Linked DNA regions of Homo sapiens: regions 2, 3, 4, 5, 6 and 7 are each linked to region 1. The links are contacts of gene promoters, found by promoter capture Hi-C in blood cells and fetal thymus (Javierre and others, 2016). All regions are on one chromosome and are shown on one strand. The core of a region is centred on a gene start or on the middle of the fragment in contact, and the rest is flanking DNA. Distances in the headings are between cores, read along the strand shown.

Region 1 (4,023 bases), core at 1,199-3,698:
CAACCAAATTCATACAACAGAGATAAATTTAAAAATCAAAGTAAAATTTTGCCCAAAGCTTATGATTAGCAATAGGATTTCAGCTGTGAACTGATAAGCAACCAAAAACAAATTTGTTACAAGTTTCCCTTTAAGTGGCCTGTATATATACATATATGTATATATTTAAGTTGTACCAAAAACTGCTTACAAATGGCAATTCCTGTGAAGTAGATGATGATGAAGTTCCAGGTAATTCTAGCATGTTTCCTAATGTACTGGTACTGGAATCTGGATCATCCTGAAAAGATAAATTTATTGAGTTTAATTGCTCTTCTATTGTAATGTTTGTGTCTCCTAGTGAAAAGGGGGCTGGGAGAAGGGCTGCTTTTTCATTGCTGCCGTCCACTTCATTTCTTTGCTTATTTTTCTGTGTTTCAGTCTGAGGAGCTAATGGCAAGAATGGCGATTTGACTGCACCGTGTCTACTCTCTGGTGTGCTGTCTTGTTCACTTCCCATGGCCACTTTTACACCATTCTCTGATTTAGTCTCATAATTGCAGGTGGCATTGGTCTGAGTTTCCTCAAAGATCTCCTCTATACTCTCATCCTCTGTGACTGGCTGTTCTGGGTCCATTTCAGAATCTACATCTGCATCGTCCACACAAGTAAAATTCTCAAAGTGCAGAAAGCCATTCTTGATAGTCTTTGTTACTTTTACCTGGAGTTCAGGGGAGTTATTACAAGAGGGTTCCTGTTTCATAGCAAGTGCTGTAGGACCACCAGGACTCAAGGAAGTGCAAACAATTGGCGTCTGAGCTCTTGAATCACTTTTTTCAGGGTCTTGAAAGGATTCTGATCCATCAGCAGACCCATTTAAATACTCTACATTGATCATGGAGGCCAAATCCTGTAGTCTCCGCAGTGGAATGTAACAAGATGGAGAATCTTGTCCATAAGCATTTTGGGATGTTCCACTGACAGTCGATAACTGCATAGTACACCCATTAAGTGGCTCAGAAAAATTGGATTGACCATTACCGAAAGGGCTGTCCTTGTCTTCAGGGGCATCTAAATTCACTGGATTGGAAAAGGGCAGCAGACAATTTCTTCTGGGTAGTTCACAGGTCTGATCCATCCTGGGCCGGCATCAACCTGGAATCCAAAAGCACAGCAATTAATCTGAGTTAATAGGCCATCTGACTCGACTCTTTAAAATGGCAGCCACTTCAAGGCCTAGTGGCCTCTATGCCTTTCTGCTGCACTTCCATGGGCAGAAAAAGTTCCCCCGACTGGAGATGAAAAAATGGCCTCGATGAGCCTCTGAAAACTCCATTTTCCCGAAGCTGGGCCGATCCTGCTACATAGAAACAGCCCGTCTCTTTTTCCTCCTCTGTAGACTGGTGGACACTTGGGATGAACTAAAATTAAAACCCCTCTGCCCGTCAAAATTCCCAATTCTCAAACAGGACTAGTCCTCCCCCTCCCTCGCCAGGGGTCGAGCAGCTGGATCTCTCAAAAGCAAAAGGCTGCGGGGTCCGAGGGGGGCTCCTGGACCCTGCACAAAAAGGTACCCCCCCCTTCCTGGCTCGCTAGGGCGCAGCGGTCACAATAGCGCTGCACCCTGCGCCCAGCCAGCGCCGGAGCCTTTGCAGCGGCGGTGCGCAGGCCGCAGGCGAGCCGGCCGAGGCGGCTGCACCCCAGAGCTCGCCTTCCTGAATGCAGGCCTGCTGGATCCGCAGCTGCAGGGCGAAGAGGCCTGGACCCGGCAGAGGGAGAAACCGAGGCGGCCAGCGAAGCCCAGTCAGGGTAGCAGCAGCTGCTACAGCTCGAAAAACATGGCTGCTGCCGACGCCGCCGCCGCCTGCCCGGGCCGCGCTCCTTCCCGCAGCCGCGGCAGCACCTCCCAGCCGAGCCGATCGCTCTCATCAATATTCAGCAGCAAGCAAAGTTTGCTGCGGGAGGGCAGCCGGCCCCGCGCCCCGCAGCCTGCTACCTGAGGGGAGGCGGAGGCCGAGGTGTTCGCAGGCGGCCGGCGGGGCACGGGCCGCGCCGGGAGGAAGTTCGCGGCAGCCCGGCCAGCTAGGCCTGAGCCCGGCTGGTAGTGATGGAGGAGGGGGAGGGGGAGGAGGCCGGCGGCTGCAGCGCCGCCGGCCACCAACCCCGCATCGCGCCTGGCCCTCCCCCGAGCCCCTCACCTTACGGCCACCACCATCTTCCCCGCCCGGCCACCCTCCTCCCTCCCTTCTCCTCGCGCCTGCCCGCCGCCCACCCCAGCGCACTAGTTACCGTGCCCCGCGCCCCCTCCCGGGCCAGCTGGGGGGAGGGGGTGACCCTCATTACACTGGGGTGCGAGCGGAGCGGTGGGGAGAGAGCGGGGCCGCTCGCCGCACCCCCCTCCCCCCGCGTCTCTCTTCAGGGGAGAAGGCAGCGAGCGCGACCTGCCCCGGCCTATTCCGCCGCCGCCTCCTCCTCCTCACACCCCCACCGCGCGCGCCCCCGCGGCCGCGCGTGCGACCGAGCGCCTCGCGCCGGCCCGCGTGCGGCTGGGCCCCGAGTGCGCGCGCACCCCTTCCCCCACCGAGCGCGCGCGTTCCCTTCTCTCACTCTTCGGGGTTCAGGGCGGGTGAAGTCGGGCTTGTGAGAGCGCCGCCCAATCAGCGGAGCTGCCGCTGCCGCCCCCTCCCCTCCCCCTGCGCGCCCGCTCGCGGCCGGGGCCTACGGGCCGGCCCGGCTGCCCGGGCGGGGCCTGAGGCGGGCTCCCCAGGGGCCTCGCGCGCCTCCTTGGAGTGTCGGGGCCTGCGGGCGTCGTGGGTGGCATTCCGATCCCCTCACCTACCTCGGGGCACGGCGCTGGCCTCGGGCCGCACACGGCTCCCGCACCCTACGCGTCTCGAACCCCAACCCAGGCGGCACCTGGCGCGGCTGAGGCCTGTCCGATCGTCCCGCCAGCCCTGCTCGGGCCCGCGTCAGTCCCGGCCTCCATCTTAGGTTACAGCCCAGGCTCCCCATCCACTGGGCACCTGCCCTCAGCCCGCTGGGTTCGGCCCGAGGCCAAGGCAACCCCCCTCCTGCCGCAGGGCTCACCTGGGGGCTTGGGCTGGGGTCTTCGAGGCCTCAGGCCCCGAGCAGACGCGGCCGCAGGCGAACCCCCTACCCGGCCGCACCCCAAACCCACACCACCACCACCACCACCACCACAGACCAAGCTGAGCAGGAAACAAAATGGAGGCAGCAGCTCGGGTCTGCCTCCCTGAGCCAAGCCTGTGCAGCCCCAGGGCTCCCTCCTGTCTCAGGCTCGACGCCCGCGAGGCAGAGGCTGGATCGTCCCGGGTGCCGCGGGCAGCCGCCCTACAGCAGCGCAGACGGGCCGGGGACTCGGCCCTGCGGTGCCCACAGCCCCTCACCCACCACCCCTTCCCTTCCCCCTCCCCCCATCCCTCTCCCTCCCCTTGCCGGGCCGTGCGGGGTGAGCGGCTCTGGGGAGCCGGGTCGGGTTACCCGCCCCGGCACTGCTCGCCCGGCCGTGGCCTCCGCGGGGGAACGAAGCCAGGCGACCCCAGCGCTGAGCCCACCCCCGGCACCGAGCCGGGCTGCAGCCTGACAGCGCGTCCGCACCTCGGCCTGCAGCCGTGCGGCCCCCGCCCAGGGAGGCCGAGTCCCCAGCCCGGGCCCAGCCGGGACGAAGCTCCCTCACCACCCCCGAGCCCAGGGGTCCTCGCAGCCTCGGGCGGGGCGAGGGGAACGCCGGGGGAGGGGGTCCTCTAGTCCCTGCACCGCCTCCCGCGCCTAGTCAAGGTCTGGGCCTGGCACGGGGGCTCGGGCAGCGGGCGCCGGCCGGCGTGGGTATGTGCGTGCGCGCCGGGCTGGGGGCCGGGACGGGACGGGCCGCGCCTCGCACCGCGGACGCTGCAGTTCTCGGCACCCAGGCAGATGGCCCTCTCGTGCCACCGCCGCCCAGAGCGGGCCGCCTGCTCCGCAGCCCGGTTCCCCGGGGAGTGCGCGCCTCGCCCCTGAGGGCCGGGCATCTGGACCCCAGCGGAG
Region 2 (3,718 bases), core at 305-2,804, 420 kb before region 1:
AACTTAGCTGGGCATGGGTTCACACCTATAGTCTCAGCTAGTTGGGATGCTGAGGCGGGAGGATTGCTTGAACCCAGGAATTAAGTTACCCAGGACTTCATGTGCACGCCACTGCACCCCAGCCTGGGGGAGAGAGGGAAACACCGTCTCCTTTTAAAATAATAATAATACTTCACAAGAGAAGCAACCTATGCAGCAGCTAGTACATAGAAGCGCCTCACCTAAGAGAGGGGGCAGGAGCTGTGCCAGGTGGCCATACAAAGCCTGAGTGTTCTGGCCTGTTAGCTCTGCTAGCTGTCTTTCATCTCTCTTGGACCACTGAGTTTGTAATCCAGTGTACACTCAATAAGCCCCCAGGAGACTTGCTAGGATGTAAGCCAGCAGTTGGTGAGGAGAGGTGAACTCATCCTACCCTTCCCCACCTCTTGTTCCCTCCACATTGTCCTCTGGGACTTTGCCCAGTCTAGTTTAAAGGGACTCTAGAGATCCGATTCTTCCACTGTTCCCTCAAGAAATTGGAGCAGATGATTAGTCAGTATCTTTAATAAAAGCATCTCATTATGTTTAATTCACTCAGCAGATACCAAAACCACCTCTGTGCCAGGACCTTTATTTGGGGTGCACAGATGGATAAGATAGTTCCTATCTTTGGGGACCTCCCCCTTAGAATCAGTGCCTACCCAGCCTGCACTACTTCCATTGTCAGTAGGAGGAAATGATACTGAGGGGATCCTTGCCACCTCTGGTTCTTCTTTGTAAGCCAGTAGAGACTCACTATATAAAAATGTCAAAAGACCTTTGAAAATGAAGACTTACCCACTTAGGATTTTAATTTTTTTTTTTAATTTAGAGATAGGATCTTGCTATGTTGCCCAGGCTATCCTCAAACTCCTGGACTCAAGTGATACTTCTCCTTAAGCCTCCCAAATAGCTGGGACTACATGTGCATGCCACTACACCCAGCTGAGTTTTAAATTTTTAATTTTTGATATCAGATGGATGATCCTAACACCTTTACTTACCTCATCTAGAATTTTTTAGAGCAGGGTCTATGTTTTAATTTATTTGGGGGGAAATATATTGTGTGTGGACCTTATATACTCAATACATGGCTGTTAAAAATTATAATAAGTAAGGATTCTACCACTTTGTTCTTGTCTGCCCCCACAACTGGGCCAGGCTGGCAGTTATTCATTTAGGCCAGCCATTCGCATGCTGTGATGCCCAGTTTTATTTCACATGGCATTTATTGTGCAGACACTAACCGATCCCAGCTCTGTGCCAGGCCTGGGCTAGCTGCGCATGCAGAAGTGAATCAGACATAGTCCCTTCCCACAAGGGGCTCATAGTCTAGAGAACGTGTGTATAGTAATTGCAGTAATGCTAGAAGGAGATATAGCATCGGCTTCCTCTGAATAAAGGTTCAAATCCTGGACCCTATTAAGTGGCCTTTGCAAGTGTTTCAGCCTCTTGGTTTGTTTTCTCATGTATAAAATGACAATCCAGGCTGGGCGCGGTGGCTCATGCCTGTAATCCCAGCACTTTGGGAGGCCGAGGCGGGAGGATCACGAGGTCAGGAGATCGAGACCATCCTGGCTAACACGGTGAAACCCTGTCTCTACTAAAAATACAAAAAAATTAGCCGGGCATGGTGGCGGGCACCTATAGTCCCAGCTACTTTGGAGGCTGAGGCAGGAGAATGGCGTGAACCTGGGAGGTGGAGCTTGCAGTGAGCCAAGATCGCGCCACTGCACTCCAGCCTGGGCGACAGAGCGAGACTCCTTTCTCAAAAAAAAAAAAAAAAAAAAAAGAAAAGACAATCCAGTCTTACATGGTTAATGTTAGGGTCCAACAAGTGCGGTATGCTTAACACAAGTGGTAGCTCTGAGTATTGTAGATATTTGGTGTCAGGGTTGCCCAAGACATAACCTAGAGGAAGATGGGTCAGAGAATGCTTCTCAGAGCTGAGTCTTCAAGGTTGTGTAGAAGTTCTCCAGAGGACAAGGTGGTAGAAAGGAGTCTAAACAAAGGAAGGAACTTGTACAAAGACCCAGGGCGAGCACCACTCATTTGGAGAGTCGGGAGAGATCCGGCTGAAGGGGCTAGCAGGGTTCTTGAAAACCACACCAAGAGGTTTAGGCTTTATCCTGTAGGTGGTGAAGAATCAATGAAAGGTTTTAAGCAGGAAAGAGAACGTGATGTGCTTCAATACATTCTCTGATAGCATGTGAGGAAGTAATTCTCAGTGGGAGAGACAGCTGTGATTGCTTGATTCCACCTCTCCCTTGCCCCAAGCTAATAATCATCAGATCCCCTGTGCTTTGCTGGACCCTATCCCAGACTTACAGAGTCAGTCTCCAGGTCTGGATCCCAGGTATCTATTGTTGAATTGTTCCCAAGTGACTCTGACATGTGACTGGGTCTGGGAGCTGCTGAATTGAGGGTGCCAGGGGGATCTTTGAGGAGACCTAGGGTATTCTTCAAACAGTGGGTTTCCCAGGGAGGAGCTTTTCCATAAACAAGAACAGAAACAACCTTAGTTTAAAACAGAACAAAAAACCTTCCCCCAGTTCTGATCTATTAATGATATTTGCCAACTTCCATTGTGTATAATCTTCCATTGTGTATCCAAACACTTACCTGTGCCTACTCTGTGCTACAGCTTCTGCTGAATGACTGCAATACAGTGACTTGTGGGACACAGGCTCTGCCCTTGAAAAGCTCACAGTATTGTGGAAAGGACAGATTTCAACCACTAGAATATATATGATAAGCTCTATTCTAGAGATACGTTTTTAAACAAAAGAGTGTTAGGATATCCTAGAGCAAAGCCAAGTTCATTCTTCCTGTGGACTTAAGAGGATGTAACACCCAGATCGAGCCTAAAAAAAAGAGAAGAAAAAGGCAGAAGGAACAGCATATGGGAAGGTGTGACTACTTTATGTATTTGGTCCTTCTTGGCAGGATGTGCAGAAGCAGAGAAGGACTGAGGAGAGGCATGCTATGTCTTGGGAAGGGCCCTGTGTGTGTGCCTTCGGTTCTGTGCCTGTGAGCCTGCCTTCATCCTTCAGACTCTGGGTGGCTCCCAGCACAGCAGCTGCATGGTTGTGCAGCCTGTGGGCCAACATGCTGCAGTCCATCTCCCCTTCATTCTCCACCAAAGGCCCTTAGCTCCCTTTATTATTTCCCCCTCCATGCTTAGGATGCTTAGCACAAGTGGTAGCTACGAGTAGATCTATCTACTGTGAAAAATGATGTAGGGAAACTAAAGCAGAAAGAAGGGGCTGGTGGAACTGCAAACACTGAAGGTTTTATTAGGAAGTTATAGCCAGAAAACAAGGAGCTGGGGGTTCAAAGAGGCCTTGAAGTCACTTGTCTAGTCCTTCTGTCCTTTGCTTCAAGAAATAAATTTGGGGCCGGGCGCGGTGGCTCACGCCTGTAATCCCAGCACTTTGGGAGGCCGAGACGGGAGGATCACGAGGTCAGGAGATCGAGACCATCCTGGCTAACACGGTGAAACCCCGTCTCTACTAAAAAATACAAAAATTAGCCGGGCATGGTGGCGCGTGCCTGTAGTCCCAGCTACACAGGAGGCTGAGGCAGGAGAATGGCGTGAACCCGGGAGGCGGAGCTTGCAGTGAGTCGAGATCGCGCCACTGCACTCCAGCCTGGGCGACAGAGCGAAACTCCGTCTCAAAAAAAAAAAAAAAAGAAATAA
Region 3 (3,955 bases), core at 1,447-3,946, 490 kb after region 1:
GCAGGACGTTTTGTCATTGTGGAGTCGCATCAGGCTCACCTTCACCCAGCGGAAATCCAGCTCTACTTATCCTGACTCAAACTCAGGCCAAACGAGGGCCTGGGCCTTGGTGCCACGCCGGCTGCGCCCTGCCAGGGGCATATGCCCCCCGGAACCTGGCTCAAGCCCCCTTGGTGGCTGAGTTTCCCCAGCCACACCCCCTGTCCTCCATACTGGCCAGGGTCCCGGTCAGGCTCCTTGGTACCCAGTGATCTCACATGAGCCCCTGTAAGACAGGACAGAGGCAGATCAAAGTTTGGGGGAACCTGAATCTTACTCCAGTTTGAAGCCCTCTTAAAAATAATTCCAACTTTGTTCAGAAGTATTTATTTAAAACAGGAACAGAAAGATGCTTAAGCTTTTATTATCAAGTTTATCCACTTCCACCACTTCTACCAGAACCTTGGTGAGGCCTAGCCCAGCATCCCTCCACCTCCACTTCAGTCTGGCCCTGAGGCAGGCAAGGCCCAGACAGCCCTGGTCACAGCTGGGGAGAAGGGGAGCGGCCTTGCAAGGCTCTCTCAGTCCTCAGCAACCCACGTATCCCTCTGTACAAATGATGGCGTTCACCCTCCAGAATGTCTGTGCCCTTGAGCCCACCACCCATGGAAGAGTCTGTCTCTCAGGCCACCTCACCTCCTTCCTGGGTGGAAACAGTAAACGCTGGACTATGGGTTTCTCCGCCTACCATAGAGCCCTCCTTCCCCGCCATGACTCACCCCACCCTCAGGAGTTTTTTCCACCCTGCTGCTGTCCTGTGGCCCCAGGACAAGCTAGGTCCTCAGACTGCCACCACTACCCCCATCTAGCCCCTAAGGCTCAGGCCCCAACTCATGTTAAAGAGTGTTTGCATTCCTGTTCACTTGAGGACAGGTAAGAACTAGGCTGTCTGATCCCCAGTCCCGCCCCATCCCCCAAAGTAATGAGGCTCAGTGGCGGCTGTCCCATTACATAGGAGGGGTGCCAAGGCCCCCCTCACACCACAAACTTGTTCTTGGCTAGGGAGTTGCTCTTGGTGGCTGTGTCTGCATGGGCCTGGTACCCAATGATGGTCTTTGGGGAGAGGCCCAGGCGCTCTTTGTATACACGCCTGCAGGTGCGGGGGACACAGAGGAAAAGAGACACAGGTAGTCATCAGAGGGTCCTAGAGATAACTTAGGCCACCAGACTCCTACCCTCATTCTGGCCACAGCCACACCTGTTGTGTCTTACCCATGTGGAAACCCAAAATATGACCCCCTTAATGCAAAAGGAGAGCTGCACTGCCGTAAGAGAAAGTTAGAAATCTGAACGCCAGACCTTCCATACAGGTGGGCAAGGCAGAAGGGAGGGAGGCTATGGAGACTTTCAGAGGTCTCCCATGCAGGCCAAGCCCCCTCCACCCACCTTCCCTCTAGCAGAGACCCAAGTCCCCACCCTGTGCCAGAGACCCTCCTCACCCAACGTGCAGCACGCCCGCCTGGTTTTCCGCCTCCCTCGTCCACACAGCGATCTTGTCCCCCTTGGTGCGGATGTTGACGACGGCCCCACATACCTCTCTGCTGTGTTCCTCAAAGCTCTCCCCGATCAGACACAGCAGCTGGACCCGAAGTAGGGGGTTGTGAGATCACCGGCTGGGACATAGGGACTGGCCTGCCATCCTTGAGACCACTGCCACCATGAGACCCACACAGCCCGTCTCTTCCCCTGAGGACCCTCCTCCTCCAACTCACCGTCTCCAGCCACAGCCGGTCCAGCTCAATGTGGCGCTGCTGCTTGGCCAGGCTGACCAGCCAGCGGCCACCCCGTTTATTCCTGCTGTCCTCCCACATGGGCTGGATGCCATCCTGCAAGGCAGATGGCAAGTCAACTGCCTCCCTGTGTTCAAAGGGAAATGGGGACCCACCCACCATCCCGGCCTTATCCGCTCTCTGCTGAGGCCCTAAGTAGGCCAGATTCTCTTATCCTCCCTTCCCTCAGTGCAAGCAGGTTCCACCCCCAGCCACTCAGCTCCCCCCGACAGACAGCACTGGTCACCTTGTATAGCCTTGTATATGTGCATGTCTCTTTTACTGAGTTCCTTAAGACAAGCATTCAAATCGGGGTGGATTAAGGAAGCCTCAGGGGCAGACCCCAATGCAGGCAAGGGGGACATCCCAGGCTTGGCTGCATGGTTCCCAGGCAGGGCAGAAGTCACTGGGGAGATCTCTAAACACAATGTCAGCCCTCCAGGGATGGGTGTGGCATCAATGAGTGTCCTCAAGCAATTCTGATGCCCTTCCCTAGTTAAGGAGCCAGGTCAGAAATCTCTCCCTCTCCCTCTTCCCGCCTCTTAAGGTCCTCCAAGGTGCGGCTTGGGCCTGACCTACTCTGTCCGGGCTCCTGTAGAGCATTTCCTCCAGTCAGAAACCACAACTCTGCTGAGAGGTGGCCCGTAGCTCCCCACCCCCACCCCTCTGAGGGATTAACGCAGTGGAGTCCGGGAGGGATCAACCCCTTGTCCCTTTGCGGGAGGGAAAGAGGAGAGCAGAGCTTACCTTGAAGAGGGCGTAGTCACAGCCAGAGGAGAGCTTGCTGGCCAGCTGGATGTGACTGTATAGCCTGGACAGAGCCCCCGACCCCATGCCAAAAGTCAAGGCTTTTTAGGGCCTGGTTCCAACTGGGTTCAGCCCTCCCAACTCCTCATCCGACCCCATGGCCTCCAAGCCTTTGCTTACACTGGCCTGCCACCTGGGATTCCACTCCCGTTTATCCAAACTCTCAAGACCCACCTTTTCCACAGAGCCTTCCCAGTGAAGGCTGAGCCAACCCCTGGGGAGGGTTTTAGACCCCCTGGTGCTCCCCCCTCCAGCTACAGCCGAGGCCTTCTCACCCTCCCTAGGGCTTGTGTAGCCCTTTTCAGAGCCACTCCCGTGAGCACCCGGACACTGAGGCAGCCGAGTCCTCCCTTTGCAGCTGAGACAGGTTCAGAGAGGGGAAGGAACTTGCCCAGGTCACAAAGCCCTGGAGTGGCCGAGTCAAGGTCAGCTTCCTGCTTCTCCTGCTCCCCAGGCTCTCTCCCTGAGCCCAAAGAAGGTGGTGGGGTGGGGGGTGGTTGTGCCCTATACCCCCTGGGCAGAACCCACAAAGCCCCAGCCCTCACAAAGGCTGAAAGGCCCTAGGGAGGGCTGGCTCAACCCGGAGAGAGGGAGCCCAGAGCTCAGAGCCCCCCAACTCTAGCCCCACTGGGGACAGACACTCACGCCCAGAAGTCCTCCACAGTGTCCACCTTGGTGACCAGGTGCAGGTTGTCCTGCCAGGCCCGGCTGCGGTCATTCTTGAAGAACCACAGAGCCCACCTGGTAGGGGAAGGGGGAGGCAGCCAGGAGGAAGCAGAGAGCCAAGTCCACCCCCGGGGCACCTGGACTGACAGGGAGGACCCTCCCCTTCAAGGGCGAACTGGGAGATGAGATTTGGGGCACAGCATTCCCCTCTCAGGTGAATGAAATCAGTTGTCCTGAAGGGCAGGGGAGGAGTGGGGGTGTTTGACCCACAGTCTCTGCGGGGTTAGGGCTGGAAGGGCCAACAGGGCCCAAGGCTTAGGTCAGCCCTGGCCTCCCACGGATGAAGAGCTAGGGCCAAGAGAGGCGGGGTTGCCCAAGGCCACGCTGCCAGCACAGAGGCTGGCCTGAAAGCAAGGGGCTGTGTTCCACTCGCAGGCTCCTGCCTACCTGTTCTGCAAGGGGTGCAGCTCCAGCTTGACTTCCATGGGGCCCCCCGTCCGGGCCTTCCCTCTCAGAGACAGCAAAGTCCTGGGAGAGTTTGGAGACTTTTCTCCTGTGGGCGTCCTCTCTGCTGCCTCCTCCTCCTTCTCCTCCTCCTCCCACTCTCGGATTCCACCCTCAGCTTCACTCACCTGAGCCAAAAAAAGGAGTCAGGATGGGTTGTGAGCTCTGGC
Region 4 (4,173 bases), core at 759-3,258, 470 kb before region 1:
ACGGGCAGCTGGGCAGGGCGAGGGCAGAGGTGGGGATGTTGGGGGTGACACAGTGACTGCACAAGGCCCAAGGGCCACTGAAGGACGGGGCTTTGACTCGGGTAAGATGGGTGCCATGGAGGCTCTGAGCAGGGTAGAGGCGTGCTGTGACTTATGCCTGGACAGGACCGCCCTAGCTGTTGTGCTGGAAGAGACTGTCAGAGCAGGGGTGAAAGCAGGGAGACCAGCTGGGAGACTATGGCAATGATTTAGGTGAGAGACCAAAAGATGAAGGTGGCCTAGCTCAGGAGGTGGCAGTGGCAACAGCGAGAAGCGGGCAGATTCTAGATGGATTTTGCTGACGAATAGGACGCAGTGTATGACAGAGAAGGAGCAGCTGAGGATGACCCCCGGGCTTTTGGGCTTGAGCAATGAGAGCAAAGAGCTTCCATTCCCATGGAGAAGAGGACAGAGCTACAGGTTTGGGGCAGGGCAGGCCACCAGCAATTCAGCTGTGATCATGGAAGCTTGCAGTAGCTCTGAGGCCACCACGTGGAGGGACTGTGTAGATGGCTGGGCTGTTGAGCCTGGAGTTTAGGAGAGAACTCCAGGAAACAGCCTCAGGAATCATCAGAGACGTGGTTTAATGCTGGAGATGACATGAGATGCCCCAAGGAACACCTGGAGTTAAAAAAGGGGGGCTGCCGAAGCACCGAGTCCAGAGAAGCCCCGATGGTGAGAGCTCGGGGAGATGAGCAGAACCCACAGACACAGAGGCCCAGCCAGTGCAGAGGGAGGACCAGAGGGTGCTGCCCCAAGCAGGGGCATTTTACGAAAGAAGATGCTGCTGGCAGGTCCACAGGATGAGGGCCCAGCATGGCCTCTGGACCAACAGAGTGGAGGAGGTGGCTGGTGACCTCAGTGAGAGCTGCTCTGTGCCATGGTGGGTGCAGGAGTCTGAGCGGAAGGGGTTCAAGAGAGACGAGGGGAGAGAAAGGGAAGGAGGTCTGCCAGAAAGCAGAGAAGGGTGACAGCCTCGAGGGATGTGGGATCCAGGGAGTCTTTTTCCTTTGAGAGAGGAGCCACTTCAGGGTGTGTGTGCTCATGGGTATGCTCCAGGAGAGGAACGCTGATCGAGAGGGAGAGGAAGGGCCCAACTGTGGGGTGGGGGGAAATACTGAAGGATGGGGATGGTGGGAGTCAGCCCGGACAGAAGCTGGAACAGCCTTGAGTCCCTGTGCACAGAGGCTGGCAGGTGAGTTGTGGAGGGAACTGGGGAAAGTTCTCTTCCATTTCATTCTGTTTTCTGAAATTGGAAGCAAAGTCGTCAGCTATGAGTGAGGACGAGGGATGAATGAGGAGAACAGATAGTTTTAAAGGCTGCAGTGGACAGACCAGAGGAAAGTGAGGCTCCCAGCAGGGCAGAGGGCCTTCCTGGCAGGGGCATCATCGGCATGGGGACAGCAGCATGGCCGCCTCACGTGTTGTCTTTCCTCTCCATACCCTCCAGTGCCCAGGCACAGGTGTGGAGCAGAGAGCTGGAGTAAATCAGGCTGGGATTACGCCAGCAGCAAGGGACCAGAGGCTTGAGGGAGTATGCCAGGGAGGGTTTTAATGATGGACCTTGGACTCCAGGTTGGGTAAGGAGGAAGTAAAGACAAGAAGGGTGGCAGGGAAAAGGGGGGGGTCTGGGGATCTGGATCAAGGGGACTTGAAAAGGTGGGAAGATCAGGCTGGTGGGGCTGAGAATCCATCTTCCAGTGGGAGTTACCTAGAGGGAAAGGAGGTGGGGGCTGGTGGGTGAGATCTCAGGCTGTGGTCATGGAAGGGAGCACTTTTTGGTAAGGGCAGGGATTTTAGGATAACGCCAGACTGTGGGCAACTTTAAAGCCGTGGCCTTGACCCTCCCTTTCCCTAATCCCCGGGCCAATCCCCAGGGAGTCCTGTCTGGGCTTCCTCCACAGCACCTCTCTCTACCCACCCCCCACCAGGCCATCAAGCCACTGTCACCGCAGACCACAGCAGTGACCACCTAACTGCTCTCCCTGCTTCTCCTCTTGCCCTGGTATAATCCATTCCACATACGGCAGCCACAGTGAGCTTTTCAAAATGGAAATTAGATCAGGGCCCTCTCCAAAGGTTCCTGTCACACCCAGTGAGAGGGGTCTGCCACCTCCCGCCCTCCTGCCCCTGCCCCAGGTGGCCTCTCACAGGGCCTGAGAAGCCTGAGCCCGGGCAGGGGTGCCGAGGGGAGAGGGTGGGGGCGGGCGCTACCTGAAGTGGTCCACCTGGTTGAGCACGTAGATGTGGTGCCGGATCTTCTTCCTGCTCAGGAAGCGGCGCATGTGGGGCACGAAGACCAGGAGCTCCTCGAAGCGTTCGCGGAAGGGCACCAGCACTGCCAGGCGGTGGGGGCCCCAGGATGCGTCTTCTTCCCAGTGCTCAGGGGGCGGCTCTGGGGGGCAGGCACGGGGAGGGCCCGAGGTCTCCTGCCCTTGTCCCCTGACTGCCCGGGCCACGTCCCCAGAGCAGCTGAGCTGCAGCCAGAGTAGGGAGAAGAAGCCCAGCGAGAGGCAGGCCACGAACAGGTGGAAGACGGAACACTTCCGAGGGAGGCCGCCGGAGAGCAACCCGGACCTGGAGCAAGCGCGGGACAGGGTCAGGAGGGCGGGGCAGGGCTGGCCCTGTGACAGACCCGTTCTCTGGCCTCCCCACGAGGAGGCTGCACATAACTCGTCTACCCCAAGCACCTGGGAATTAGTACAGAAGCAACTTTAATGTTTCTGCTCATGCCACTACCATGCATCCGAATCCTGCTTGCCTCTCTAGACCCAACCCATGCCACCCGCTCTCGGGAAGCCCTCTGAACCACTCCCAGTTCACAGAGCTGCCCCGGCTCCTCAATGCTCTCTTACTTTCTGTGACTGAGTCCTGGTCAGAGCTGCTCAGGGCAAGGATGAGGAGGCTCCTGTCACTTGCAGGTGCTCCTCCCCACGATAGTGGCTCAATGTCCTGAGCCAATGACAGGAGTCCCCACCTTAGAGATGCAACCCACTGCTTTCCAAACCCGCTCCCCTACAGATCCACCCCAGCAGAAACCGTGGCTCCATCCTGCTTCCAAGAATGACCAGAAAGGCCACCCAGACACGGGTGTGTGCTGGCATTAGTCCAGGTAAAATGACCAATGTTTACTCTGGGAAGATCAGACGTGCCCCCCGAAGCAATGCAAGGCCCAAACTGTCAGTGGCGGTTCACTGAACGAGCCTCAAACCTTTAGTCCAAGAGGCAGCTCATGATAAAAGATGGGAGATGGAGAGGGAAAGAAAGATGAGGGCTGGGTACAGCACAGGCACTGATTTCAGAAACTGGAAAAACAGCTGAACATCACAGACACTGGGGTGATGCCAGGAGACAGCCTTTTGGTTAGCAAATACAAAGAAACAGAATTCACCAGATTCCTTTGCCGCTCCTCTGGAAGTTCCTGAGTATGCTGAGACAGGAGCTGAGGAATCCATGAAGGGAGAAGCTTCCTCTGTACTCCCCCTACCTTCTCCCCAAAGTAATCTGCAAAGGAATCCACTTCACAATCTTAAGAGTCAGCGATTAGCTATCAGGTCTTATAAATTCTATCTCCTGGCCAGGCGTGGTGGCTCACGCCTGTAATCCCAGCACTTTGGGAGGCCGAGGCAGGTGCATCACGAGGTCAGGAGCTCAAGACCAGCCTGGCAAATATGGTAACACCCCATCTCTACTAAAAATACAAAAATTAGCTGGGTGTGGTGGTACGCGCCTATAGTCCCAGCTACTTGGGAGGCTGAGGCAGAAGCATAGCTTGAATCTGGGAGGCGGAGGTTGCAGTGAGCTGAGATCACGCCACTGCACTCCAGCCTGGGCAACAGAGCGAGACTCCATCTCATAAATAAATAAATAAATAAATAAATTCTATCTCCTAAGTCCCCCTCTGATCCTTCCTCACTCATCTGTTCCTTGCCCTGCTCAGACCCCTTCAGTCTTCTGAATGACCCTCCTCTGTTTGCCAGACAAAGGCCAAGCCCTTTGGCCTGACAGTCAAAGCCCTCCATGACCTGGCCCCAACTCCAGGTGCTCCCAAGCCTTCGCCCCATGTTCTCATGTTGGGCACCTCGGAGCTTCTCCACTTGCTATATTCCTTCCTGCTCCAGCCCTCACACAGCC
Region 5 (3,899 bases), core at 925-3,424, 360 kb before region 1:
GAGGACAGAAGAGAAAGGATAACTTCATCGTTTCTGCTGAACCAGTTGGATAAATGTTGGTGGCACTTCTTGAAGTGAGGAAGGAGTTAGGAAGGTGGGAAAGGCACAAGTTTGAATTGGGCCATGATGGTCTGAGATACCTAGTACAGTGGTTCCCCAACCTTTTTGGCAGAAGGGACCGCTTTCATGGAAGACAATTTTTCCACAGACTGGGGGTGGGGTGGGGATGGTTTCAGGGTGGTTCGAGTGCAGTACATTTATCATTAGACTCTTTTTTTTTTTTTTTTTTTGAGATAGAGTCTCGCTCTGTCACCCACACTGGAGTGCAGTGGAGCCATCTTGGCTCACTACAACCTCTGCTGCCCAGGTTCAAGTCATTCTCCTGCCTCAGCCTCTCAAGTAGCTGGGATTATAGGCATATGCGCCACCACGCCCAGCTAATTTTTGTATTTTTAGTAGAGACGGGGTTTCACCATATTGGCCAGGATGGTCTCGAACTCCTGACCTCAAGTGATCCTCCCCCGCCTCAACCTCCCAAAGTGCTGGGGTTACAGGCGTGAACCACTGCACCCGGCCCATTTATCATTAGATTCTCATAAGGAATGAGCAACCTAGATCCCTCGCATGCACAGTTCACAATAGGGTTCACGCTCCTATGGGAGTCTAATGCTGCCGCTGCACTCAGCTTCTCTGGCTTGCCGCTGCTCACCTTCTGCTGTGCAGCCCAGTTCCTAACAGGCCACAAACGGGGAGTTGGGGACCCCTGATCTAGTAAACATCTAGGCAGGGTTTTGGATAATGGAGTTAGAGTTCCTGGGGAGAGGTCAGGCTGGCCATGAAACATGGGATGCCTTTGCATATAGGTGGTGTTGAAAGCCACAGGACAGTACGGGGTCTCAGGGGGTGAGCATAAAGAGAGGCGACATCAGATGGCCAAGGCCAGAGGCAGAGGAGGATGGGAAGGAGGGGCCAGTGGGGCAGGGGGAAGCTGTGAAGCCAGGGAAAAAGGGTGTTTCGCGGAAAAGGATCAACCTGGACCAGTGCTGCCCCTAGGCAGGGCAGGATGAAACTTAACCACCACGGATTCCATGGCCCCATGGCCTCCAGGCCACAGGGGACCTTGAGAAGAGAGATCTCAGGGGACGGGTGCGGACAAGAGCCCGCCTGGCATGGCTTCAAGAGATAACTGAAGGAAAGCAAGTGGAGACGCGATAAACAGACAACTCCCTGGAGGAATTTTACTCTCGAGAGGAGAATTAAAGGGTAGTAGCTGGAGAGGGATGTGGGGTCAAGAGAAGGTCTTTAACGACGAGAACTCTCACGGCGGTTTGTGCAGAACAGGGTGGGTGTGATGACTGTGGATGGAGAGGGGAGAACTGCAGCGACTCTGTCCTAGGAGGAGGTGATGGGCCGGGACCACCAAGCGAGTGGAGGGTGGACGCCCCTTCCCTCACCCCGACACCCGCATGTGCTCAGTGTCCGTGCCGCCGGCCCTAGTGCCTGGGCTGAACGCGGGGCCGGGACTCTGAGGACGCCTCCCAGGCGGCGCAGTCCGCTCTGGCCAAGGTGGAGCGGGACGCGGCGCTTCCGACGGTGCGCGGGTCGGCTCGGGGTTGCAGGGACATCCGGCGTCCGCTCCTGCCCTGTTTTCCTGCCTTCGGCAGAGCGTTGCGCAACTCTAGCTTTAAACGCCCCTGTCCCCCTCAACTTGTCTCCCCCAGCCCCTCTGATTTACAGATTCTGCAGTCCCCGAGGGTTGCGCCTACGATACCGACACTCGCGGCAGCCCTGCGAGGCGAGTATGATCGTCCCATTTTTCGGAGTAGCAAACTAAGGTTCAGAGACTACTATGTCCCAGGTCGGTCTGGTTTGAAGGTCCGCTTTCCTCTCCCTCCGCCAGCGGGCGGTGCGAGGGACTGGGCGAGGCAGCGCTTCCCTAAGGAGGCGACCCGCAGCCCCGGCCCCCTCCCGACTCCGCCCCGTTGCAGGGCCCGGGTCGGCGAGGCCTCTCAGCTCTAAGCCCGACGGGACTTGGTGATTGGGCAGGACGGAAGAGCTGGGTGGGGCTTTCCACCAGCGGAGAAAGTCTAGTGGGCGTGGTCGCGACGAGGGCGTGGCCTGGTGCCCCGCCCCCGTCCGCGCGCTCAAAGTGGAGGGTGGCTGTGGGGGCGGGGTCAGAACACTGGCGGCCGATCCCAACGAGGCTCCCTGGAGCCCGACGCAGAGCAGCGCCCTGGCCGGGCCAAGCAGGTATCGACGACCGCGCGGGGCGTCTTGGGCTGCACCAGGCGGGCGCCCGGGGCCTGCTGAGGACCACAAAGGGCACTGGGGGTCGTGGTCCAGGCTGTGCTTCCTCCCGCTGGCCCTGGCCCCTGCCTCCGCCCCCGCCCCCGCCTTCCTGCCGCTAAGCCGGCTGCGGCGGGGCCGATTGGCGCCTGCGCCGCTTCCTGCGGCCGGGGCCAGTCTAATGCATGGGGCCCGGGCGGGGGACTAAGGGGAAACTGAGTCACGTCGGTGTGGGAGCAGTTCTGTGTGGGAGGCACCACCCCCCACTGGGCTCGGGGAAGGATCCCCCTCCAAGCTATGCTTGAGGGTCCCAGCCCCCATCTGTCTCCACAGGGGCCGCACCCCACTCCCGCCTTCCCCTTCTTCAGCACCCAGGGGTCCCGCCCTGGCTCCCAGCAGCCTCGACTGGTCCCGGAATGGCTAGGAGGATCCGCTGCAGCCGCCTCCCTCCCCTCCCCTCCCCTCCCCTCCCCTCCCCCCCCCCTCGCGTCCCAAGCCCCCGTGTGCTCCCTCCGCTGGCTCTCCGCACAGTGTCAGCTTACACGCCTTATATAGTCCGAGCAGGCTCCAGCCGCGGCCTGCCTGCCGGGACCTGGGGGCGGGGGAGAGGAGAGCCGGCCCCTGACTCACCCGGCCGCCCGAGGCTCCAGGCTGGCTTGGGGGGAGGCCGCGCCAGTTTAGTCCCTCGGCCCACCCCTGGTTGCAAAGAACCTCAAGCCTGGATTCAGGCACCCCTCACCGTTCCAGTCCCAAGGGGAGGGGGGCTGCTCCTGTCTTTCCAAAGTGAGGTCCGCCAGCCAGCAGCCCAGGCCAGCCTGACAAAATACCTGCCTCCTATGGCTTGGGCGTGCTCAGGGGCTGCCCGTGCCTGCCTGGCCCCTGTCCAAGGCTGGTATCCTGAGCTGGCCCGGCCTGCCTGCCTGCCCGCCCACCATGCTGGCCACTCACCTTCTCTTCTCTCCTCTCAGGAGCCGGCATCATGGATTCCTTCAAAGTAGTGCTGGAGGGGCCAGCACCTTGGGGCTTCCGGCTGCAAGGGGGCAAGGACTTCAATGTGCCCCTCTCCATTTCCCGGGTGAGCCTAGGTTTGGGGAGGGGGCTCCCCCAGCGGTCTTTCGGTGCTTAGGTCTCCAGAGGGTGATGGGGGGAGTCCTAACAGGAGCTGGTCAGGGGCCAGCAGGCCAGGAGATGTCTAGGTCCGGAGATGTAGTGGTACCTGCCTGCCACAAGGACTCCCAATGAGGTGGATACTGGGAGGGAGCACCCAGGCTTCTCCAGCCCTGCACTGTACCCGATGCTGTTCTCCCAAGCTCCTGTGGCCACCTCTGAGGGCTGGAGGGAGGCTCATTGTGCAGGATGGGAGCCTAACATTTCAGGAGGTATCTAAACTTGAGGTGGCAATGCTTGGAGCCAGGCCCCAGGCAGGACACTGTGACTATAGGATTTCACTTCAGCCTCACTGCCGCCCAGGGAATAGCAATCCTCATCCCGTTTTTCCAGATGAGAGAAGAACTCATGGAGAGGTGGCGGGGCTCGCTCATCGAGTCCATGGTGAAGCAGGGATTGGAATTGAGGCACAGCATGGCGTACATTTTTTGTGGGTAGAAGGGGTC
Region 6 (4,005 bases), core at 1,364-3,863, 270 kb before region 1:
GGAGCATAAGTACAAAGCTGAAGAGCACACAGTCGGTAAGTGGCCTGGCTCCTCCTCCCGGGAACCCTTGGGTGGGGATGTGTATGGTGCAGTGTGTGCAGTCTCAGGGCAGTCTAGTCTAGTGCCTACCTGGTGCTAGGTCTTATGCCCATGGGCACTAGAGTGATCGTGAGCTGTGTGATCCTTGAGGGCAGGGTATGGGCTGTGTCTAAGTGCCCACGAGCCTGGCTCGGAGCAGGTGCTTGAGATATGTGCTGCTGGCGCCATCACACCTGGGCTCCTGCCAGCCTTCCTCAGTTTCCCCAGCTTCTCCCCTTCTTTTCCTTTCCCCAGTACGTCTCATGGGCATCATTCATGCCACACAGAGGCCAGGGCCTTCAATGGGCAAGGAAGGATCAAGAGCTTGTCTCTGGCATCTGAATGCCTCTGAAGCCCAGCTTTATCACTTATGAGCTGGGTGACTCTGGGCGAGGGATTTGAGTTCTCCAAGCTTCAATTTCCCCTTCTGTGAAACCAGGTTGATAACAGTAAACCTCTTAGGGTTGTTGAGAAGGGAAACCCATGTGAGGTATTCAGCCCATCACCTGGTGCATGGAAATGCTTTACAAATATTAGCTTTTATTATGAAACTACCTTTTAGATGAAGGGTACCTGCCATTTCCCCCTTCCTCAAGCTCTGCCATAGCTCCCCATTGCTTTCATTCTTCCAGACACTAAATTACCTACATGCCAGGCATGGTGGCTCATGCCTGTAATCCCAGCACTTTGGGAGGCCAAGGTCGGTGGATCATGAGGTCAGGAGTTCGAGACCAGCCTGGCCAACATGGTGAAATGCTGTCTCTACTAAAAGTACAAAAATTAGCCAGGCATGGTGGCATGCGCCAGTAGTCCCAGCTACTCGGGAGGCTGAGGCAGAAGAATTGCTTGAACCTGGGAGGTGAAGGTTGCAGTGAACGAAGATCACACCATTGCACTCCAGCTTGGGCAACACAGCAAGACTCCGTCTCAAAAAAAAAAAAAAAATTTACCTAGAGTGTGGCACATAGCAGGGCCTGTGAACCAGATGGACCTTACCCTGGTGGGCCTGACTTGGTGGGGTTGAGTCTCTAAGCATGGCGTTGAGGCCCAGCACATTCCAACCCTGGACTCCCTCAGCCTCCTCTCTTCACCCCACACCCAAAAGTTTCTCCTCTCTCTTGCCTTACCCAAACTTGGTGCCCTATCCTTGCCTAATCCCCTGCCTAAGGTCCCCCTCCTCTCTGTCCGTCCATCCCATCTGCATCTTTTTTTTTTTTTGAGATGGAGTCTCGCTCTGTCCCCTAGGCTAGAGTGCAATGGCGCGATCTTGGCTCATTGCAACCTCCGCCTCCTGGGTTCAAGCGATTCTCTGCCTCAGCCTCCCGAGTTGCTGGGATTACAGGCACACAACTTCATGCTCAGCTAATTTTTGTATTTTTTAGTAGAGACAGGGTTTCACCATGTTGGCCAGGCTGGTCTCGAACTCCTGCCCTCAGGTGGTCCGCCCACCTTAGCCTCCCAAAGTGCTGGGATTACAGGCGTGAGCCACCGCGCCTGGCCCCCATTTGCATCTTAAAGGTCCATCTCAGATCCATTTCCATTTACTGTCCTAGTTCTGGTTTGGTCCTTGGCAAGTGCACTTTGCCTTGAACAAAATAGTGGCAAAAGCTTATTGAGCAGGTACTTTGTGCCAGACACTGCTCAGCATTTCATGGCATTATCTCATGAAGCCCCACGACAATTCCTCTGAAGAAGACACAGGCAATTCTCATTATTCGCGATGGTTATGTTCTATAAAATCACAGTGAACATTGAACTAGCAAACAGTATTAGGTTCCTGTGAGCCTCTGGTCACAACATTTTCATCAACCAACAGCATATAATCTGGTTTTATGTATGATTCTGTTTAAAGACATTTTATTTAGTATATGTGTTGCTGATTCATCAATGCTAAGCTGATGGCACTATAGCACACACCTGAATCAAGTGTCTAACACACGCTTTCTCCCTAAGGTAGCCTTCTTGTGCTTAGGAACTACACAGCTCTTCAGCAGGAGGCTCAGAGGCCATTTCCAAAAGCCAAATCCCCAGCAAAAGCACAAAGTGTGAAAAACGTTGCACTAAGTAGACTGAGAAGGACACTCATTCAATAGGAGAGCTGAAACAAGCAGCAGCAGCGTGACGCCTTGTTGAACCTTAACTGGGAATGTGCAAATTTTTCACTGCTCTGTGCATGCCCACAAATGGCCATGAAAACATTTCAAGTATTGACTTGGGAGTTACAAATAAAATTCAGCAAGTAGGCACATTCTCAATGTAGAACCAGAGAAGAATGAGGATCAACTGTACTATTATTACTGCCGTTTTACAGATAAGGAAACCAAGGCTCAGATCAGAGTGGTTAACAGTGACTTCAACATTCAACAAGTATTATTAAGTGCCTACTTTGTGGCAAGTGCTCTTCCTGGCCTTGGGACTGAAGACTTACCCAAGGTCACACAGCTAGCAGGTTGTGGAGTCAGGAGTCTACTCCAGCTATCTGACTCCTGAACCCAAGTTTTTTTTTTTTTCTTTAAGATGGAGTCTCACTCTGTCACCCAGGCTGGAGTGCAGTGGCGCGATCTCGGCTCACTGCAAGCTCCGCCTCCCGGGTTCACACCATTCTCCTGCCTCGGCCTCCCGAGTAGCTGGGACTACAGGCACCTGCCACCACCCCCAGCTAATTTTTTTGTATTTTTAGTAGAGAGGGGGTTTCACTGTATTAGCCAGGATGGTCTTGATCTCCTGACCTCGTGATCTGCCCGCCTTGGCCTCCCAAAGTGCTGGGATTACAGGCTTGAGCCACCGCGCCCGGCCCTGAACCCAACTTTTAGAGCAGAAAGTGTTTTCAATGCACAGCGACCTTTTTGAGGGTCTGTCCTTTTCCTGACCAGACCCTGAGGGACAGTGCCTGAGCAGTTGAGTACAGGGGAAGTCCTCAGAGAGTGTGTTGTCCCTGCAGTTCTCACTGTCACCGGGGAGCCCTGCCACTTCCCCTTCCAGTACCACCGGCAGCTGTACCACAAATGTACCCACAAGGGCCGGCCAGGCCCTCAGCCCTGGTAAGACTACGCAGAGGAGTTGGAGCAGGGGCCTGGGAGACATGTACCCTGCCTGTCCTTCTGTCCAAGGAACTCTGCTTGGAGAGAGGGGACTGTGATAGGGCAGGGTGGGCCAGGCCCCTGGGTAGAGCAGGGAAGCCTTGTCTCTTTCTACAGGTGTGCTACCACCCCCAACTTTGATCAGGACCAGCGATGGGGATACTGTTTGGAGCCCAAGAAAGTGAAAGGTGCTACACACAGCCTCTGGGGTGGCCTGGGGCTCTCTCCTCCCGCCTCATTACTCTCCTGGTATCACCAGACCCCACACACCTGGGATTCTGGACCCAGCCCCTTCTCTCCCTCCACAATACCCTTTGGAAGTCCAGAGGGAGAGTTCTGGGAAGGAGTGGTCCCATTTTGCAGGTGGGTAAACCAAGCTTGGAAACTTGGAGTAGCAAGGTCACAAGGCAAGTAGGTTCAAGAAGGGCCTTGGCCCCCAGCTGTGTGACTCAGCTCCCTGCTCTTCCTTCCACCATGTCCATCTCTCAGACCACTGCAGCAAACACAGCCCCTGCCAGAAAGGAGGGACCTGTGTGAACATGCCAAGCGGCCCCCACTGTCTCTGTCCACAACACCTCACTGGAAACCACTGCCAGAAAGGTGAGGAGATGTGGAGGACCTGGGCGGGGTGCTGGGGGACAGGGGCAACCCTGGGCCTACAGAATAGGTTGCTGGATACTCGGAGACTTGGCATGGTCCTAGACTCTCCTGAGACCACTATCCCTCTTTGTCCCCAGAGAAGTGCTTTGAGCCTCAGCTTCTCCGGTTTTTCCACAAGAATGAGATATGGTATAGAACTGAGCAAGCAGCTGTGGCCAGATGCCAGTGCAAGGGTCCTGATGCCCAC
Region 7 (4,127 bases), core at 132-2,631, 310 kb before region 1:
GCCTGTGTGTTAAGGGAGAGGATATGTGCTCCTTATGCAAAGGGAATGGCCTCCCAGTACCCGCTCCCTTTTCTTTGTATACAGGCACCCTGATTTCAATGGGGGAATCACTGCCCCACGGGTGCCATCCTGGTGAAACTGTGAACCCAAGTGCCCTGCTCCCTGACAGTGCACAGCAGGCAGGTATCCAGCCTGGCCACTCAGACTCCTTGAGTTTGCAACTGGGCTCAAAGAGGCAAAACCAAATGGCTCTATCATCTTGGTTCTGGTGGGTGTCTCCTGATGAGAATGGAGCCCACAACTAAGACCCCGAAGCTCCTCCATATCCTTGGAACACCTTCTAAGTTAGCGGGAGGACAGTTCTGTCACTTGCAACATTCCCACCTGGCTCTCTCACTCTAGGTATGTGTGTGGAGTATGCGTGTGCAGGGGGTGCAAGCCCAGCCCCGTCTAAACCACATGGACAGAGACTGGGGGTGCTTTTGTACATGCTGGAGCAAACACCCCAACACAACCAGTAAAAACCCTTCAGGGAATCCCCTACCTTCCAGATGAGGCCCCATCTGGGCCTTAACCCTGTGATCCTTAATCTAGCTTTCAAAGCTGGCTGTGTCTCACTGACTTCAGCTCCAGCCATTCCTTGCTTCCACCCCTGGCCTCCCATGCTCAGCCATCCTAAACCACTAAAGCCCTAGACCATCCATCTGGCTCCTCTACTTGGGTACATCTGACCCTGTGTCCTGGAGGGCACCAATTCTGACACCTTCAGGGTCAAGGGGCCTCCCTGTTTGGTGCTGCCCCACCCCCAACCCTGTCAGCTCTAGAATCCTCTCTTCCACAGTGCTGATCACACTGGGTCCCGCTGTTCCCACGTCTGCCTCCCTACCAGACTGAGCTCCAAGCTGCCAGGGGCCTCGTCTCCATCTGGGTCCCAGTTCCCACCATAGAGCTGGGCATGGAGGACAGCTCAGGGAAGCTTCTTGGGAAATGAATTCTGGGAGTTCCCTCTGCCAAGGACCCACTGTGTTAAGAGCTTTAAGGTGAGTTTAACCCTAGCCAAGAAGTTCCCTGGATGCCTCCCTAGCCCAAGGGGGAGCTGGCCAGGGTGTCCTGATCCAGGTGCAGGCAGAGTGCCTCAGGGTCCTGCACATCCACCTGGCACGCGCTCTCTTGCATACCTGCCCAGGGCTGGGCTTTGGTATGACATGCTAACACCTACCTAAAAATCCCCCACTCCCACCTCATAACAGCCTGGGGCAGAGGGGCAAACCCACCCCAGGCTCCTTTCTCATGATACATGGGTAGGATCCAGCTTTCCCATCATTACCTGGTTTCCTCCCCACCCTGCAATGGCCACTTAACCAGTTGGAAGACCTTGAGCAGGTCCCCACTCCCCTTACTTCCCTTAGGTTGGTGGGAAGCAGCAGGCACTCCACATGTCATGAGTGGGGCCACAAAAGGCCCCTTCTGCCAGGCTGCTGGCTTGGCACCTTCTGGCTGTGCTTAAGCCAGGTGGTTAGTTTGGTACTCAGCACCACTCCCCAGCAGGTGGGAGTCCTGCGGTGGCTTGGGAACTCAAGGGGCTGGCTGGCTGCTTTGGTGGATTCTCACAGCTGCCCAGAAAGGTGATGGGTCTTACACCTACCTTTCCATATCAGGGAAGCGCCTGTGCAGGGCCAACTTGAAAAGTGGCCAGGCTGGGGCTTGAACCTGGAACTGTCAGCTACAAAGCTCACATGGCTCCTGCAGCACTGGGTGCCCAGTCCAGAGGCCAGGAACAAGCTTGATGGGGCTTACGGGGCATTCTCAGGGAGCTGGGGACACTGGGAGTCTATAGAGCAGTGATGGGGTTGCCAGATCTGGGACAGACTGGTAGGCAACAAGCTCTCAGCCCCAGAGCCCAGGCAGGAAGCTCCCCTTGAGTGCCTCCCAGTCCCCCTTCCTCCCAGGTGAATGTCCACTTCGAGGCCGGCTCAACCACCGTCTTCAGAGAACTCTCCCACACTGGCCACAGCCTATCTGCCAGCGTCACCCACTGTCTAGGTCTTTGCCCATAATGTGTCAAGGGCAAAACAGAGGGGTGGATATGATGCACGTGCCTCAGCCCGGGGCCCGTACATGGCTGGCGTCCAGGTAACGCAGGCCTGGGGCAGACATTCCTTACACAGCTCCCACCCTACTCTTACGTCCACATTTAGGCAGCCAGGCCACCTTAGCCTTGGAGGGGAGGACACCAACGGGGCCCGCCTTACCAGCAGTCAGAAACAGACCCACATCCCAGTGGGTACCCAAGGCTTCTTTCCTTAGGCCCCATCCCATTTAGGAAGTTGGGAAACCCACTGGGTGAGCCCAAAGGCTACCAAAGCCTGGCTGTCTGGAGAGGCTAGTTCAGAGTCAGCCCTGGGGGCTCCTGGGCCTCGGAAGGGCACACCCTGCTTCCCTCCAGGCCCACCTCCAATCCCTTCCCGCTTCCAGCTGGGCCAGGGGAGCAGGAAGACCCCTGGAGCACCGGAAGCAAGAAAGAGGCAGGCAGGGGCGGCTAGCCAGGTTTGTGCTCGGACTATTCACACAGAGACATGTGGCAGCTTACGTTGGACAAAACGAGTAATAAAAATTGGCTTTAAATATGGAAAAAACAGGGCCCTGTAATCCCATGCTACCCTAACACTGGGACCAGGATGGCCATCACAGTCTGGGAAGGGCCAGGGCTGGGACCTGGGGCACAGGCACAGCCTCGCCCTATCCCCTTCACCCACACAGGTACACACGCGCGCGCACGCACCCCACAGGCGCACACAGGAAGGGGCGGATTATTGCTGGGCACATGTGTCTATTGTTATGAGGGGAGTCCGGAATGTTTGAGGGTTGACCAGGGATGCCCCACCCCCTCCTAGGGGCTGGGCTTGGGCGTTTCTGAAAGAGGTGTCTGCAGGACAGAGCCCAGTATCAGGGACCAGGCTGTGGGAGCTGGAAGGCAGAGGCAGACCTATCTGGGCCGGCCGGGGCAGTGGGCTGATGGGTATCACAGGCAGCCCAATCTCTGGCCACTTTGGCACAGGCCTAGGGCATACAGAGGCCCCAGACCCAGCGCTGACAAGCACTGAGAAGGGACAGCTTTGGGCCCCAGAGGGTAGCAGCCTGAGCCCAGGGCAGCAGGGGGAGGCACGAGTCTTACTCAGAGGCCGGGGTGGCCAGCACAGTGCTGAAGGCTCAGGGGTGTGACCACCCTCAGCCATCCAAGCTGGGCCAGAGGAGCCTTGAGTTTGGCAGTGGCTCCTCTGCCAGCTCCCGCTCTCCCAGCCAGGGCTGGCTGCCCCCAGGAGCCAAGGCGGGGGCGCCAGGTCTGCGGCGGGAATTAAGAATGCTCTGGTCGCTATATACATTCGTACAAATACATAAATACAGAAAGCCCCGAGCTCCACGGAGAAGAGCTGAAGGGACGCACCTTTGTCCCAGGGATGGCCCAGGCCCTGCCAAACTCAGCCAGGCCAGGGGCTGAGGGACGGAGGACACTGGGGACAGCTCCGTCTGTGTTCCCCAGGCCACGACTTGAGTGGACAATGGGGAAGATCACTGTGCAAAACTGTAAACGGCGCTCGGAGTAGCTGCTACCGCCAACTGCTGGTGGGGGCCTCGGGCTGGGGGCTAGAGGCGGGTGGGGAGCTCTTCCTCGCTGTCGCTGCAGTTTCCACAGCAATCCTGGAGGGACGGGGAAGACACGGAGGGAGGGAGAGAGGCAGAGCAGGTGCCATTAACCACGAGGGACGTCACATGGGGCCGACCCTGCCAGGGCAGGCCAGGAGCTGCCTGAGGGGTGCACTCTGGGGAGGGGCCTCTCCACAAGGAGCCTGGAGCAGCAGCTCAGGCCACACGTGGGTGGGCGTCATTGCAGAGGCTGCCGGCAACAGACTGAAGTAAGGGGGCTGGGTAGATCCCACGGTCTGCCAGGGCAAGGCCTCTGCCCAGCCCTCTCCCCTGGGGCTGGCAGAGACAGGGCACGGGGAGACAAGCGAAGCAAAGCTGGCAGCTCGAAGGGGCCAGGGTGCAGGGGATCAAAGCAGTGGGCAGGGGGAGTGGGGCGGGCACCAGACTTCTTTCTCCCACATCTTGCCTTTGCCATGGAAGGG

Evidence for each region. Contacts are between HindIII fragments. The CHiCAGO score rates a contact against its expected background, and 5 or more counts as called.
Region 2: a contact is called between a fragment that was not itself captured here and the fragment with the promoter of NSD1 in region 1, in 1 of 17 cell types (monocytes). The highest score is 5.6, in monocytes.
Region 3: a fragment that was not itself captured here is called in contact with the fragment with the promoter of NSD1 in region 1 in 1 of 17 cell types (total B cells); the score reaches 5.0 in total B cells.
Region 4: a fragment that was not itself captured here is called in contact with the fragment with the promoter of NSD1 in region 1 in 1 of 17 cell types (neutrophils); the score reaches 5.7 in neutrophils.
Region 5: a contact is called between the fragment with the promoter of PDLIM7 here and the fragment with the promoter of NSD1 in region 1, in 4 of 17 cell types (neutrophils, erythroblasts, M0 macrophages and 1 more). The highest score is 8.5, in neutrophils.
Region 6: a fragment that was not itself captured here is called in contact with the fragment with the promoter of NSD1 in region 1 in 1 of 17 cell types (endothelial precursors); the score reaches 7.5 in endothelial precursors.
Region 7: a fragment that was not itself captured here is called in contact with the fragment with the promoter of NSD1 in region 1 in 1 of 17 cell types (endothelial precursors); the score reaches 5.2 in endothelial precursors.

Annotation. Positions count from the first base shown.
Region 1 is chr5:177,132,198-177,136,220 of GRCh38, reverse strand. It overlaps NSD1 (nuclear receptor binding SET domain protein 1), which reads right to left and starts at 2,448. Exons shown (of 23, transcript NM_022455.5): 1 at 2,269-2,448; 2 at 191-1,134. The coding sequence starts at 1,117. RefSeq lists enhancers at 1,246-1,799, 1,800-2,351, 2,352-2,905, 3,119-3,413, 2,906-3,457 and silencers at 1,813-2,112, 2,173-2,332, 2,413-3,082. The HindIII fragment of the contact is 6,719 bases long and covers 61-4,023 here.
Region 2 is chr5:177,547,280-177,550,997 of GRCh38, reverse strand. The region is part of intron 1 of FAM193B (family with sequence similarity 193 member B); the gene reads left to right. Among named protein-coding and RNA genes, the nearest start is that of FAM193B, 5.4 kb to the left of the region's middle. The HindIII fragment of the contact is 5,989 bases long and covers 1-3,718 here.
Region 3 is chr5:176,643,040-176,646,994 of GRCh38, reverse strand. EIF4E1B (eukaryotic translation initiation factor 4E family member 1B) reads right to left here. Exons shown (of 9, transcript NM_001099408.2): 4 at 3,729-3,913; 5 at 3,261-3,356; 6 at 2,556-2,619; 7 at 1,752-1,865; 8 at 1,479-1,618; 9 at 351-1,129. The coding sequence ends at 1,015. Among named protein-coding and RNA genes, the nearest start is that of TSPAN17, 2.5 kb to the left of the region's middle. RefSeq lists enhancers at 613-907, 1,178-1,688, 2,270-2,909, 2,910-3,551. The HindIII fragment of the contact is 4,593 bases long and covers 400-3,955 here.
Region 4 is chr5:177,602,622-177,606,794 of GRCh38, reverse strand. It overlaps B4GALT7 (beta-1,4-galactosyltransferase 7), which reads right to left. Exons shown (of 6, transcript NM_007255.3): 2 at 2,254-2,616. Among named protein-coding and RNA genes, the nearest start is that of B4GALT7, 4.6 kb to the right of the region's middle. RefSeq lists an enhancer at 1-173. The HindIII fragment of the contact is 2,999 bases long and covers 509-3,507 here.
Region 5 is chr5:177,495,879-177,499,777 of GRCh38, reverse strand. It overlaps PDLIM7 (PDZ and LIM domain 7), which reads left to right and starts at 2,174. Exons shown (of 13, transcript NM_005451.5): 1 at 2,174-2,250; 2 at 3,255-3,361. The coding sequence starts at 3,266. RefSeq lists enhancers at 561-1,300, 1,519-1,568, 2,781-3,522 and silencers at 1,779-2,488, 2,899-2,978. The HindIII fragment of the contact is 22,050 bases long and covers 1-3,899 here.
Region 6 is chr5:177,405,076-177,409,080 of GRCh38, reverse strand. It overlaps F12 (coagulation factor XII), which reads left to right. Exons shown (of 14, transcript NM_000505.4): 2 at 1-35; 3 at 3,020-3,119; 4 at 3,276-3,346; 5 at 3,648-3,758; 6 at 3,896-4,005. Among named protein-coding and RNA genes, the nearest start is that of F12, 2.5 kb to the left of the region's middle. The HindIII fragment of the contact is 1,849 bases long and covers 1,689-3,537 here.
Region 7 is chr5:177,441,309-177,445,435 of GRCh38, reverse strand. GRK6 (G protein-coupled receptor kinase 6) reads right to left here. Exons shown (of 16, transcript NM_001004106.3): 16 at 2,545-3,699. The coding sequence ends at 3,646. The region is part of intron 1 of PRR7-AS1 (PRR7 antisense RNA 1); the gene reads left to right. Among named protein-coding and RNA genes, the nearest start is that of PRR7, 3.4 kb to the left of the region's middle. RefSeq lists an enhancer at 4,102-4,127. The HindIII fragment of the contact is 806 bases long and covers 979-1,784 here.